2 separate regions of the Homo sapiens genome follow, and region 1 is linked to region 2. Evidence: promoter capture Hi-C in 16 types of primary human blood cells and fetal thymus (Javierre and others, 2016). All regions are on one chromosome and are shown on one strand. Each heading gives the region's core, a stretch centred on a gene start or on the middle of the fragment in contact. The rest is flanking DNA. Distances are from core to core; before and after follow the strand shown.

The links. The method cuts DNA at HindIII sites, captures the fragments that hold promoters and counts their contacts. A CHiCAGO score of 5 or more calls a contact.
Region 1: a contact is called between a fragment that was not itself captured here and the fragment with the promoter of LRRC15 in region 2, in 6 of 17 cell types (M0 macrophages, M2 macrophages, naive B cells and 3 more). The highest score is 9.4, in M0 macrophages.

Annotation. Positions count from the first base shown.
Region 1 is chr3:193,769,990-193,773,416 of GRCh38, reverse strand. It overlaps LOC105374282 (a long non-coding RNA gene), which reads left to right and starts at 1,032. Exons shown (of 2, transcript XR_924838.4): 1 at 1,032-1,601; 2 at 1,952-2,465. RefSeq lists an enhancer at 1-1,847. The HindIII fragment of the contact is 2,277 bases long and covers 783-3,059 here.
Region 2 is chr3:194,368,421-194,372,168 of GRCh38, reverse strand. It overlaps LRRC15 (leucine rich repeat containing 15), which reads left to right and starts at 2,426. Exons shown (of 2, transcript NM_130830.5): 1 at 2,426-2,508. RefSeq lists an enhancer at 2,003-2,967. The HindIII fragment of the contact is 9,301 bases long and covers 1-3,748 here.

The DNA.
Region 1 (3,427 bases), core at 672-3,171, 600 kb after region 2:
TGAGAAAGCAGTCCTACCTCCCACAGCACCGGCCCATGGGCAGAGGCCACCAAATAGAGTTGGGGCAGAGCTGCTGGAGTCTGGGAAAAAGACCCAGATTCAAGTCCAGGGGCCACTGCTTCTCTTCTGTGCGGTCTTGGGTAAGTCACTCAATCTTTTTGTAAAAAGGGGCTAACAACTCCTTTATCACAGAGCTGAGAAGAGTACAGAAAATACTTTTGGAAACTCCTAGCACAATGCTTGGCTTTAAATAGTCCCTTGTTCATTTTTTCAACAAAATTGGTTTATTATGACTTACCAAGTCCCCGACACTATTTCAGGACACAGGGCATTCAATAAATCCTTCCCCCCTTGTGTCTTTTCTTCCTCCCTTTCTTTTTCTCAGAGTAGGAAGAGAACGTGGTATCATTTGGTTTAAACGTAAAGGTGTGAATCAGTGTAACTGTGACTGTTGTTTATAAGAGAGCTTCTCCCCCATGATGTGAGACAGAAAAGATGCAGAGAAGATGTACAAATACACACTTAATACCACGGACAGAAAAGCACGCCTATCTTTCAGACAATTTCTCTCAACAGGCTGGAAAAGGGCAAATTATATCAAAACCTCTGATTGGAGAGGCCAGCACTTCCCCAGAAGAGAGGGGGCCAGATGTGTCCAGACAGTCTAGGAGGGCTGGGGGAATTTGAGGTGCTCCTCCCTGCTCCCGGTTATCTCCCATTTCCTTTGGGAGCCCCGGAGACACGGCCTTCCCAAAGCAGCCTCCGAGGTGGCCTGTGAAGCTTTTGTCCTTGGCAGCAGAGAAATTTCTGCTTCAGTGGTTTCAAACAAGGCTTGCATTAACTCCGGGCCTGTGAAGAGAGCACGTGCAACAAAACCCAACACCGTGTCCCGGCCCTCAGACAAGCACAGAAACAAATGGTGCAGGAATTTTTCAGAATAGAATCATCCGCTCAATGTCACTGCATACATTTACCTACCTCAGTGCCTATTCAGGGGCCCCTTTAAAGGGTGATATCAATAGAGATGGATCAGACAACATCTCTATGGCAACACCTCCACGGAAAAATGATGGCGGCCACAGCAAGACGAGCGATGACTATTTTTTTTAAATATACACAAATACAGCACTACGCACCCCAAAGCGCCCTTTGGCTCCCAGGACACAGGGCTGTGTTTAAGACAACAGCATAGGAGCTCATGACAAGACTAATTAGGAGCACAAGGGGAGTATGCAGGCTCAGGACCGAGAGTTTGACAATGAATTAAGACCTGGGGCTTTGGGATACTGAAATTTGTCAACAAAATTAACATTCCCTTTCCTGGAAACTCTCAAGCTGAAGGAGTTTACGAGGACCTTATTTTAAGTGTCCAACTTGGAGGGAATTATCAGAGAGAGAGAGCGAGAGACGGTAAAAACAAACAGTAGCCGCCATCAGCCCCTTCAACAGCACTGTAAACCTAGCCAAGGATGGGTTCCCGCCCACTGCTTCTCACAGCCGTTCTCCTCTGATGCCTTCGCAGATCGGAATTTGGGGAAGGAGTGGCCTCCATGACCTCAACATCAGAAGCCTAGAGGGTCTTTGTGGCTTAAAGGGCTGTGGTAAGAGAAAGCCTAAAATAATACTTATATTAGGAACAACCAACACCACGATAAGAAGAAGAACAGAAAAGGAAGACGTGGGTTCCATTTACATAGGTACTTTCAGGAGGTCTTGTGTACTGAACGCTTTAGAAAGAAATTGGTCACTGTCTCAGCAAAGCAATTTTTCCACTTGTTGGAAAGGATGATAAAAGGAGAACCGTCCCTTCATCCGTTGCATTGTGTGTCACAGCACAGAAATGGGAGGGAAACAGGCCCAAGGTCTGGGAGGCTGCTCATATTTCTCCACTTACTTTTCCCGTGACCTTAGGCACGTCATTAACCTTGCTTGCCTCTCCCGCTCCCTCCAGACACGTGAAGTACTGGCTGCCGATTGTAGAGGAGAGATTCCTGGGCAAGTGCAGAGTTATATAGAGTGCCCTTTCTACCTGACACACGAAAGAAATGAGCTGTAACAGACGCCAGCGGCAGGTGCAGGACCTGTGAGCTTCACTCACTGTGCCCCAGTGTTTGGGTTCCTGCGCTTTGAACCGCCTTACTTTAAGAAGCCTTGTCATTGGAAAATTGACCGCAGCTGATGGCTTCTGTCATTTGTGCTGTTGTTTGGAGGGCAGGGCTCTGCGTCGCTTTGTCAGGCCGCACAGGGAATGCGCCACCTCCGGCCCGCACTGTCTGCCTACCCAGACCCACAAGGCTCCTCAAAGCCTCCTCACCAAGGGCTGACTCTTTTGCCTTGTTCTTTCTTTTTCTTTCTGTTTATTCTTTCAAAACATGTACTCCTTTTAGGCAGTTGCGAGAACTTCTACAATAATCTGTGTTCTAAATTTTAGGAGCCACAATAAAAACCTCTCTTTTTTTCCTGCATTGAGACATTCTTAAAGTTAAACACATACAAATTAGATGATTAAAATAATTCCATTTTCTAGGATCTATAATTCAAAACAAATACCTCTTACAGAATTTTTAAATTCTATTAACCTAGTTAAAATACCTATTTTATATCCATTTGAGATATAACAAATATTAATTTCACTAATTTATATTGGTTTCTCTATCTCACTAATATATATTAGTTAAAATGTCTGAAAGGGCTACGAAAAAGCATGAATAAAGACTCAAAACATTTCATTCAATTTAAGAAAACAACATTACATTCAGAAGCAATTAATTCAATTTTGCTTACTCCATACATTTTCATTTTATTTTAATCAATTATCTCTCCAACATTATTGCAATATAATGCTGTAATAAACTATATTTGTTTTAAATAGAAGATATTACATTTTCTAAAATCATGAGTTTTAGCTTTCATAATGTTATTTTTTTCAAGCAAAATCAAACTTTTTCCCATTCTTCCTGTGACAGGAGTCAGTTTCAGCCCACTAAAAAGAGATATATGGCTGTTCGGTTCATATCAATTGATGGTAAACACATGTTGAAAGTCCTGTTTTTCAAGCTTGCATTTTGTTCATTGAACTGATGACAACTATCATTTCCACAGGGTTTAGCACTTCACAATATCAGCTGTACATTTTGAGCATGGCAAAAGAATTGATTGAGCTTCCATTTATTTTTTGCCTTCAAGGATATGTATGTAATCCACAAATACAATTCACAATACAGTTAAGAGTTGATGTGGGCCGGGCGCTGTGGCTCATGCCTGTAATTCTAGCACTTTGGGAGGCCGAGGCGGGCGGATCACCTGAGGTTGGCAGTTTGAGACCAGCCTGGCCAATATGGCGAAACCCCGTCTCTACTAAAAATACAAAAAAATTAGCCAGGTGTGGTGCCGGGTGGCTGTAATTCCAGCTACTCAGGAGGCGGAG
Region 2 (3,748 bases), core at 1,177-3,676:
ATCTGTCAGTGACCTCACTCCTTCCATCTTCTCCCAGCCCCGCTCTGCGTCAGTCCGAACTTCCGTCCATGGGGGTTGTGTGCCCAAGCACAGGATCCAGTGGTGTGCAGATGGCATGGAGCCCACGGGCTAGGCTTGGACTCTGGCTCTGTCACTTAGCATATGGCTGCAGGGAAATTAGTTAACAGGCCTGGGCCTCAGTTTTTTTGTCTGTGAAATGGGGGTAATTACTGCCACTCATAGGACTATTTGGCAGATCAGTAGTTCTCAACCATGAATGTGTGTGTGTGTGTGTGTGTGTATGTGTTTGTGTAAACTCCCCCTTCCTGGGGACATTTGGCAATGTCTAGAGACATTTTGTTACTTTTGGATCGGGGGGTACTGCTGGCATCTAGAGGGCAGAGGCCAGGGATGCCATGGTGCCTCCCGCGACACGTAGAACAGCTCCTGCAATGAAGAATTATCTGCCTCCAAATGTCACGTGGTGAGGCCGAGAAAGCTGGTGGAGGTGAAATGATGGAGAGCTGCAGTGAGGTACCCAAGGGGTCTCTGGTTCACAGCAGGTGCTTCCCAAATAGCCATCTTTAAATGCAGCCGATTCATCCCTGTGTTGTCCACCACTCCCAGCACAGTGCCCGACACAGAGCGCTTGGGTGCTAGGATTAGGGAGGATGGAAGAGGAAAAAGAGGGATATTCTTATTCTTGTAGGTTCTATGGAAAGAAAGTTAAAGTGGCCAGGCGCGGTGGCTCACGTCTGTAATCCCAGCACTTTGGGAGGCTGAGGCGGGTGGATCACGAGAATCATGAGACCAGGAGATCAAGACCATCCTGGCTAACACGGTGAAACCCCATCTCTACAAAAAATACAAAAATTAGCTGAGCCTGGTGGTGCGTGCCTGTAATCCCAGCTACTCAGGAGGCTGAGGCAGGAGAATCGCTTGAACCCAGGAGGCGGAGGCTGCGGTGAGCCGAGATCGCGCCATTGCACTCCAGCCTGGGTGACAGAGTGAGACTCCGTCTCAAAAAAAAAAAAAAAAGAGAAAAGTTAAAGTACCTGATTTGGGAACGTGGAGGAATCAGGGCCGTAAGAGGGAAGGTGTTCTGCACGTGGGAACAAGGCTGGTGGGGGAAGGGATGGGGCTTCAAGCTGTGTGGAGCCACTCCAAGCAGTGCCTGCCCCTCCTGGGCTCCTGTTATTTAGTGGACAAGACACTTTTTGTTTCCGGCTCTGAATCACGGTGCCACAGTGAGGAGGAATGTGGCGTGATTCAGGCTGTAGGTCTTGACCATGACAAGCCACCCAAGCAACTATTTCAGTAATAACACTACGCACTTTTATATCTTCCTTTCATCGCAGATCTCAAAACACAGCGCAAATATTAATTAAGCCTCTTGGCACTCCATGAGGCACTGTGTGTAAATATCACTCTCCCCACTTAGCTGAGAGGGTAAACCGAGCCAGGCAAAGGCAGGGTGGCTTCAGCCTGGGGCAGCTCAGGCCTTGTTGAGGCTCCATCTCGGAGGAGAAGCCGGGGTTTGGAAGCCTTCCCGCCCCTCCAACTATGATTCCTGTATCCTCTTCCCCAGGCCTTTTTGGGGATACCACAAATAGAAACAGTTTTGTCCCCACTGGGGACGGGGGTAGAGAGGGCAGCAGTGTGTGGGCTGTAATGCAGAGGTGAGGGGCATAGGGAAGCTCCTCACGCCCAAATATGCCCCTTGATTGCCCGTCCCCAAGCCAGAGATGTGTGTGCCTGCACCTCTCAGAGCAGCAGTAATGGCAAAGACCCCAGCATCACAAGGAAATCGGAAATGCTGTTTTTAGAGGGGACACAGTGGTCGTAATTATATTTTTCCTTGGAATCTAAAGTAAATGCTTCTTCCAAAATGTTAACAACAGATGAAACACATTAATTGTCTGTAAATTTAAAGCCAAATAAAAAGTTTAAAATAAGAAAGAAAGAAAGAAAGAAAGAGAAGAATGAATAAGTTTTCTAGAACCACAGGGAGAAGCACTTGCCAATACTTCTAGGAGCAAAGAAACGCCCCTGAATCCTGCTCCATCCCTTTCTCGGGGTCCTTGTCTCCTTGGCCAGGGCAGGGCAGCAGGGGGTCCACAGTCACTTAGGGAGGGGTTTACCGGGTCGTTGTAAACTCCCCTCTCACGGTGGCCAATGCAGTGAAGGAATCCAAAAGATACACTGGGGGAAAGAAGGAAAGAGGAAAATGTGTCCTGAGTTTTTAAATACGGTTGAAGCAAACCCCTTACATTTAGGGATGCCAGCTATGTGTACCCTGTAGTGTCAGCCCGGGACATGCAGGCACTGCACTGTGGCCCACAGTCCCCCCTCCCAGGGCCAACACTGCCCTCTGCAGTGACTCACGCCCGGGATAGTTTAAATACCGGGACAGCTTAGGCGAGCCACACTCATGCTGCAGCCTTGAGCCGTCCCTCGTCCTCCTCTCAGGCTCCCTCTTGTCCACGGCGGGCGGGCGCCGAGCTGCTGGTAAGTAGGCAAGCCACCCCCATCCCTCCTCTCTGCTTAGAGGGCCCGGCCAGCCCCTTCCCATTTCTGCTGGACCTGCTCCCCTCGGAGACCCCAGAAGGGGCAGAGCTGACATGTGCCTGGGGATGCTCTCGGGACAGGGACAGAAGCAGCCTGTGCTGGAGGGGTGCAAGCCTGTCTCCCTCACTGCCTGGACACCAGGACCACCAGCCCCTCTGCTGATGCCTCAACAGCCTCTTATGCCCCTTGCCCTGAGCGGCTCATGATGTCAACCTGGGGTGCTGAGATGTCTGAGACCAGCAAGTTGGGCTGAAAGTGGACTAAATTATCACCCCCCTTGTCACTGGATTGACCGTTCTGGAATCTAGATCCACTGGGGGAAGAACTTCTCTTTTTAAGGTTCAGATTATTTGCGCCTGTGCCATCTTTCCTGGCACTTGCCCTGGTGGCTCCCAGTGGTCTGCCCCGCATTTGGTTCTGCCCAAGACCTTCCTTCATGGGGGTTTCCCAGGCAAGAGAGCTGTCTGCTTTGCATAGATGGATAACTCCTGCAAGTGTAACTTCAGCAGATGTGCTGGTCCCTGGTTTGCAGTTCCAATTTGGAATTCGGACATGGGCTCAGCATTGTTCAGGCTCTAACAGTGTGGCTTAGGGGACACTATGCTGGCAGTTTCCCCTCTCTCCTGCTGGAAGCGTCGGCCTCTGTGGAGCCTGGAGGCTTTGAGCAGGGAGTCAGGGCAGGAGATGGATTTGTGATGAGGTGGTATGTGGATTTGAAATTGTGACGGCTGCACCTTGACCCGTGTCTCTGCTCAAACGTAGAGGCAGGACCTGGGGCCAAGAAACCAACTGTGGAAAACCAGAGCTTTCAGGACTCTCCCACCCCTGCCAAAGTGCAAGAGCCATTCCACCTCCCGGGCCCAGGGCATCACCTCGGTGCAGCTGCACTCTCTCTGAGATGACACGTGTGCTCCAGTCGCAGGTGCCAGGTGCCTGTCTGCCACGTGCCAGCTTCTCCTTTGGGGTTATCTGGGATGCGTCACTTTACCTTGGGCAGCTCTCAGATGTGTTGCTGCCACTGGCTCCTTAATTTAGAAGTGCTCTAACGGCTGGCACTTCCTTCATTCTGCAGAGACTGAACATCTGGAGTAAATTCAGGGCCAGACAGCCCAATTTGCCTGTGGTCTTGAGTCAGCTGGGCGGGCTCAGCAGTGATGAGGCAGGCATGTGAGAGGGTTCG